Regions from separate parts of the Homo sapiens genome. Here region 2 is linked to region 1. The links are contacts of gene promoters, found by promoter capture Hi-C in blood cells and fetal thymus (Javierre and others, 2016). All regions are on one chromosome and are shown on one strand. Each heading gives the region's core, a stretch centred on a gene start or on the middle of the fragment in contact. The rest is flanking DNA. Distances are from core to core; before and after follow the strand shown.

What was found. The method cuts DNA at HindIII sites, captures the fragments that hold promoters and counts their contacts. A CHiCAGO score of 5 or more calls a contact.
Region 2: a contact is called between a fragment that was not itself captured here and the fragment with the promoter of WBP2NL in region 1, in 2 of 17 cell types (endothelial precursors and total B cells). The highest score is 5.7, in endothelial precursors.

The regions. Positions count from the first base shown.
Region 1 is chr22:41,997,008-42,000,699 of GRCh38, reverse strand. It overlaps WBP2NL (WBP2 N-terminal like), which reads right to left and starts at 1,912. Exons shown (of 6, transcript NM_152613.3): 1 at 1,820-1,912. The coding sequence starts at 1,881. SEPTIN3 (septin 3) reads right to left here. Exons shown (of 12, transcript NM_001363845.2): 12 at 2,479-3,692. It also overlaps the pseudogene SLC25A5P1. RefSeq lists enhancers at 1,331-1,845, 1,846-2,362 and a silencer at 1,960-2,019. The HindIII fragment of the contact is 12,096 bases long and covers 1-3,692 here.
Region 2 is chr22:42,471,646-42,475,337 of GRCh38, reverse strand. No RefSeq gene overlaps it. Among named protein-coding and RNA genes, the nearest start is that of NFAM1, 41 kb to the right of the region's middle. The HindIII fragment of the contact is 2,851 bases long and covers 189-3,039 here.

The DNA of each region.
Region 1 (3,692 bases), core at 663-3,162:
ACCTGGGCCTCCCAAAGTGCTGGGATTACAGGCGTGGGCCACCGCGCCCGGCTATCTTGAGCATTCTTGACAGACTCCTCGCTGTCAATTTATCAGTGGCAACTATTCACTGGTTGGAAATGGGAAGCAATAATAGTCATCTGACCAGTTTTCTCTTAAAGCCATTTCTATGATGATGATGATGATGGGACTCAATTATGTTTTTTATTTCAGTCACTCCTAATAAATAACAAATTTGGAGAAATAAAAATATCTTAAGAAAAGAAAAAAGAAAAGAAAAGAAAGGCTTCACACCATGGAATGACAAGTGCTCAAATGGCTCTCAGTAAGTGCTCACGGGGACACCACTGTCAGAGTGGTGAGCAATCATCTACCACAAAATGGAACAAAGCAGCAGAGGTACGTAGGAAGCAGGTGAGAACATACAACCTCTAAGGCCCATATAAATCTGTCAAGAAAACTTTCTGGAGGAAGGAAAGATAGAAGAAAGACCTGGATATCAGCATTTGGTAACGTCTACTTCGATCTTCCTGACAACTACATTCAAACTGACCTGAGTGTGCTGGCCCCAAGCACATCATCCAGCTTGAGTTTCAATGCTGGTTGGGAGAAAAGGAAATTGAGGGCAAGTCAGAGCCCAGAAAGGAGCGCAATTTAGAACTGCACAGCGGGGGAGACTGAGTTTGAGTGTAGGAAACGGGAAAGGGGGCGTGTGGGGTAAAGAGGTGAGCGCAGTGGAGTCAGGCCTTAGTGAACAAGTGTGCTTGAAGGTGGAGATGGGCACCCCTCTGGCTGAGTCTGCTCCAGTAGAGAGCTCAGGGGCCAGCAGCAGGCACCGCAAGGAGCAAAGCAACTGGTGTAAGCCCCACAGCTTCCTGCGACCAACAGTGCTTTGTTGTGCCCAGGCATCTGTTCAGTCCCATCTTTTATTTTAAGACAGGATCTGGCTCTGTTACCCAGGCTGGAGTGCAGTGGTACAATCTGAGCTCACTGCAGCCCAAACTCCTGGGTTCAAGCAATCCTCTTACCATCGCCTCCCAAGCAGCTGGGATTATGGGTGCACACCACCATGGCCCACTAATTTTCTACTTTTTGTAGAGATGGGGTCTCACTATGTTGCCCAGTCTTGTCTCAAACTCCTGGGCCACCTCAGCTTCCCAAACTGTTGGGATAAGAGGCATGAGCCACTGCACCTGGCCTCAATTTTTTCAATTTTGTTTTTAAAAGCAGACATCTCCCTGGTTGGAGCAAGGAGGAAACATGGCTTTAGAAAGTTTCCAGGTCCAAGGAGAAGCCCCACAACAGTTTGAGATCTTTCCAGAATGATCCACACTCGACCTCCTCATCCCTCTTACCAAAGAGCGACACCTTGTTCGTGGAAGTAGGAGGAGATACACACCCAGTACCTGTCCTCATCCAACAAAGTCGCAGGCACCCAAGGGCAGCCACGCTGCCACCGAAGGCCCCCGGCTGCTCACAACCGCCGGTCAGCTCCGGCCTCTCTTCGAAGGACACACGCGTCTCGCACCCCCTCCCCGCCCCGCCCTGAGGAGACATGCGTCTGGGCCCCGCGCCTTGAAAAGGCGCATTCCCACCCCCACCCCTCAAACGCGCGAGGCCACGCGTTCCGGCCTCCGCCACCTCCACATGCCGGAACACCAGTGAGGGGCGCGCGCTCCCAAAGGTCGGGGGCGGAGCTAAGAGCGCCGCGCCCAAAAAAGGCGGCAAAGTCCCTGACTCGCTGAGAGTTTGCGAGCCGCCATGTCTATCTCATTCGTCTCCTCTCCTCCGACAGCACGCCGTGCTTCCCCTCAGGCACCTTTCACCGTTAGGGATGAGGGCTCCGCGGCGGTTCTCGGTGTGGCTCTGATTCACCGCCATCTTGCTTCGGGCCTCCTGCCGCCCCGTAGATGGAAAGGGGCGGGACCTGCGCCGAGCTGTGGGGCGCGGTTCTGAAGGGGAGGGCGGAGATTATGACGTAAGGAGGAGGAGGAGGAGGAGCGAGACCGGGTCACGTGGTGGGGCAGTGCCCGGGGAGCGGGGCGGAGTCAGGGTAGAGGCCCCCGCCGAGAAAGGGGAGAAAGAGGCGGGCCCTGAGAATTGGCTCGAGCGCGAAGGGGTGAGTGATAGGTGAGTGGCCTCCCGACCTCACCTGCCCCCTTAGCCCCCTGCCTTTAGGTATGGACTTGGGTTGGTCCTGTCAGGAATGATCTCAGCTCACTGCACCTCCAACCTCCCATGCTCAAGCCATCTTCCCACCTCAACCTCCCATCCATTACTCACTTTGGTTATGAAACACTAGAAAATAATGACTGAGGCCCGACCTGACGCCAACTGAAGATGAACTGACCTCACAAAGTGTTTTCATCTCTAATATCTGTGGCTATTTCTTACCAAGAGAGTCTCACCCTCCACACATGGGTGAGATGACATAATGGCTGATTTGGTCAAGGAGCACAAATAAGACAGGCCAGGCAGTTACTGTTCAAACAGCAATGTTTAGTTGTACAACACATAAAGTCTAGCAACAATTACAGGACCAGTTTGAGTGTCTGTTTGCTTGTTTTCAATTGGGAAATTTAACTGTAATGTCACCGTAAGATTGGCTGGGACTGGTAACATTTAAGAAACGGGTTGTTCTTGCATCCCCTAGGCGTGGGCCTCTTGCTCCATCAGGACTTGGTTGTAGATGAATGGCCCACAAGTCACCAGCCTTTGAGCAAGTTGTGTCCAGGTGGAGACAGGAAGAGGGTGGGCAAAGGGGAATTCTATAAAGACACAGTGTGTGGGGCAGTGGCAGTCAACATTCGCAAACATTCATGCATCTGATGGGGGGCTTTGCCCTCCCTTGGGTATTTTCCATTAGCCTACAGTGACCACCTGTGGTCAGGCTAATTCATTACTCACATTAATGGGGAAGGGGGTTGGGGGTAGGAGTAGGTAGGGTAGGTGGGAAGAGATCCCTCTTATTGCTGAGTGGACAGAAGGGTGCTAGTTTTTCCTTAGCGTGTACATATTGTGGGTTTCTGGGGGTTTGTGTGTGTGTTTAGTTTTTGTTTGTTTGTTTGGACAGAAGAAAGTCAACTCCAGCAATGTCTTCTTAGGAAAACCACTCTTCCTCAGTGGCTGCGTTATGAGGTGGGGAGGATGTACAACCGCACTCTGGGACAGCCACAAGTGGTGATTTTTTAAAAAGTGATCCTAGCCCTTGCTCCCCAACATCTGTAGTGACCCACCCTCATGAATATCTTTAAGTAATGAAGGAGACACCCTTGTCCCACTTTGGGGCTCACACAGCTGATCTCAATGAATCTAGTAAGCAGAAAAATTGCTTTCTTGACCCTTTAAGGAAGCCAAGAGTAGCTCATGCAGATGAATGGGTAGGGAGCAATGCCATTGCCCTTAGAGATGGTTACAAGTAGCTGGGATGGGCTTACAAGGGCAGAAGGAGCTCTTGATGAGTTCTTTCACCCTGCAGATGGGCTAGGACCGGCTGACGCAGATGATGCAGTAGGGCTGTACTGGCAGAACCCCACTCCACTGGGAGGAGAGGAGTGGTTTGGATAAATGGAGGATGCAACTGGCCTAAAGAGGCAGCTGGCCCCTCCCACCTACTGAGGGCTGAGAGGGGCTGTGGTGGTGAGCTGGACGAGCACAGCACTAAAAAGGGCTTGGCCCTGCAGCAATAACAG
Region 2 (3,692 bases), core at 365-2,864, 470 kb before region 1:
CAGAGAAGAGATGGGTGTGTTTAGGAGCAGGTGGGATCTAGAGTGGCTACAGCACACTAAGGGGAAGAGTGACCCCAGGTGAGGCTCAGAGGGAGGCTGGGATCAGATAGTGCAGGTGCACTGGTTTTCTCTCCCAGCCTAGGTCATCATAATTAGTGTGATTTCCATGCCATTGTCAAACACAAGCTTGATTCTGTGTGTGAGATGGCTGTGTTTTAACAATGTGTGATTCTTGTAGATTTGTTCACGAAGTTGTTTGAGATCTGGCTGTAAGACACAGGCAATTGTTACCCATTCATAAGGTCACTTTTTCTTTTTTTTTTTGAGACAGAGTCTCACTCTATTGGAGTGACTGGTGCGATCTCGGCTCACTGCAACCTCCACTTCCTGGGTTCAAGTGATTCTCCTGCGTCAGCCTCCAGAGTAGCTGGGATTACAGTTGTGCACCACCACACCTGGCTAATTTTTGTATTATTAGTAGAGATGGGGTTTCACCGTGTTGGTCATACTGGTCTCGAACTCCTGACCTCAGGTGATCCACCTGCCTCGGCCTCCCACAGTGCTGGAATTACAGATGTGAACCACCACGCCCAGCCCCAGTCACCTTTTAAATTTACTGAATAGACTGATTCATCCTTCTAAGAGAAGGGATAGCCAGGTGCAGTGGCTCACACCTGTAATCCCAGCACTTTGGGAGTCTGAAGTGGGTGGATCTCTTGAGCCCAGGAGTTTGAGACCAGCCTGGGCAACATGGTGAAATCCTGTCTCTACAAAAAATTAGCTGGACGTGGCTGGGCGCGGTGGCTCACGCCTGTAATCCCAGCACTTTGGGAGGCTGAGGAGGGCAGATCACGAGGTTAGGAGATCAAGACCATCCTGGCTAACACGGTGAAACCCCATCTCCACTAAAAAAAAAAAAAATACAAAAAATTAGCTGGGCATGGTGGCAGGCACCTGTAGTCCCAGCTACTCGGGAGGCTGAGGCAGGAGAATGGCGTGAACCCAGGAGGCAGAGCTTGCAGTGAGCCGAGATATAGCCACTGCACTCCAGCCTGGGTGATAGAGCAAGACTCCGGCTCAAAAAAAAAAAAAAAATTAGCTGGACGTGGTGGTGCATGCCTGTAGTCCCAGCTTCTCGGGAGGCTGAGGCAGGAGGATTCACACCCAGGAGGCGGAGGTTGCAGTGAGCTGAGATCGTGTCACTACACTCCAGTCTGGGTGACAGCACGCAACTCTGTCTCAAAAATAAATAAATAAATAAATAAATAAATAAATAAATAAATAATAAATAAATAAATAAAAATGGTAACCCTAGTTTGCATAATGGTTTTGAGCTATGAACCTAGACTTAAAGGGAATACATTGAATAAATCGAATGACCATGGAGAATTAGATGAGACCTGTTGTAACCAAGTGACTTGTTTTCTTATTTTGTGTATTTGGGTCTCAACTTCCCCAAAGAAATTTATCCAGGTGTGGCATGTAGTATTAGCAATAGCACAGACATTTCCTTATCCAACCAATAAATAATATAGAGCAAATTCATCATCTAGTATCCCACAACTGGGATGCATTAAAGCCGAGTGAACAACAGTTCTATTAGGGATGTTGCCAAAGTTACCCACTAGGTGGCCTAAAGGATCTCTTAGGTCAGGTTCTGTCAAGTTACCAGCAGAAGCTACTGATTGGGAAGTTTCAGTTGCATCATTATCCTGCCAAGTGGAAAAAATTGGCATAAGCAGGGAAGAATTAAGAGGGACAAGAGGCTCATGATGGGGACTCTTGTTCTGTTGTCTTGGGAAAAGCCACCCACAGCATGAAGCCATCAACTGCTTGTCCTGGTTTACAGTTAGACTGTCTCTGCTCATGGCATGAGGCAGTCCAGTGAACTTTCTATATGGTCCATAGATCACACACAAGACTCATCCCTTAAAATTCATTTAGTTTCAGCTTATAGTGCCTTAGGAACAGAGCAATTCCCATTCTTAGTATTCTATGGAAGAAAGTTGGATTGGAGGAACCAAAAATAATTTAGGGTCAGGTGGGTACGGTGGCTCACGCCTGTAATCCCAGCATCCCGTGCACGCCTCAACCAGGGTAAAAATCTTTATGCTGTATGCAGGCAGATGTGCACAGAAATAGAACTAAAAATGGTCTATAACTGATTCCCTTGAGCTCGCAAGTCCCCACTCTTGCTCACGGCAAAAGAGAGAAAGGAAATAACACCAGGAACATGCTCATCAGAGCTAACTCAGCCTCTTCAGTCTTCCAAAACTCCCTTCCTCATTAACGCGTCAAGATTAAAGTTCAAGTTCAGGTTCAAGTTCCGATCAAGTGTCTCTCCCTGCTCCTTTCTGAGATGCTGCTAGGGTGCGGGGTAACTAGGGCACCCTCCTGGCTCCTGCCTCTCAGCCATGGCCAGGGCGGTTCCTGGACCTTCCGTCCTGGTGTCCACGAGGCGATACCATCATGCATTATTCTCAACCTCCAGCCCAGGGCTCCCAGCCTGGCCTCTGTACCCCAATCTCAGTCTTTTGATTCATCAGGGCCTGGGCTGCTTTTCCCACTCCACACTAGAGAGTGTAGGCTGGGTGTAGCCTCACACTAGATCTGTGAGGCTGCCTTCCAGGCCACTGTCCTAGACCCTTTCCTGGCCATTTCCAAAGCATGCCTGAGCAGCCCCTGTCGTTCTGCTGCCATGCTCACCGCAGGCCTTGCTACCACTGTGTTAACCCCGAGGAGGGAATCAGGACGCTGACATCTGATCTCCTGTGTCTTCCTACTGATGGGAACTTCCCTAAGTCACACCTTCAGACCCTGTGCACTGCTTATAATCCAAGTCCAGGATTCTGTTATTTACGTCTTAAAGCAGAGCCTTTGGAATTTAGAAAATCTCTTTTTTCTCTGAAAGCTCAGTTTCAAGACTACCGAATCACATGCACTTGGAGTCAGTCTTAATACTTAAAAGTGAAAGCGTCTTTCTTTCTCATCACCTACCTACTATGAAAATCATAATTATCCTTGAGGCCAACAGAAGCTTCTGACTGAATAAGAGAAGGAAAAAATATTAATACATCTAAGATAGTATCTGGCCAGGTGCGGTGGCTCATGCCTGTAATCCCAGCACTTTGGGAGGCTGAGGTGGGCAGGTCATTTGAGGTCAGGAGTTCGAGGCCAGTCTGGCCAACATAGTGAAACCCTGTCTCTACTAAAAATACCAAAAAGAAAAAAAAAAAAAAGAGCCTGGCATGGTGGCACACACCTGTAATCCCAGCTACTCGGGAGGCTGAGGCACGAGAATCGCTTGAACCCAGGAGATGGAGGTTGCAGTGAGCCAAGATTGCACCACTGCACTCCCGCCTGGGTTACAGAGTGAAACCCTGTCTCGAAAAAAAAAAAAAAGATAGTATCCCTCTTTTACTTGTAGCATAGCACTTATCACAAATGTACTAGAATTGTTCCATATCTGTCATCCTAAATAGAGAGGAATTACTTAAAGGAAGGGCACAAATCTTACTCACTTTTTATGTCAAGTGCCTAAATATTGTGCCTGGCACTTTATACGCTCCCAGAAACTATTGGATAGATGGATAGGTGGATGAGTGTGTGGATGGGTGGGTGGATGGTGGATGGATGGATGGATGGATGGATGGATATGTGTGTGGGTGGATGGATGGGTGGATGGGTGAAAG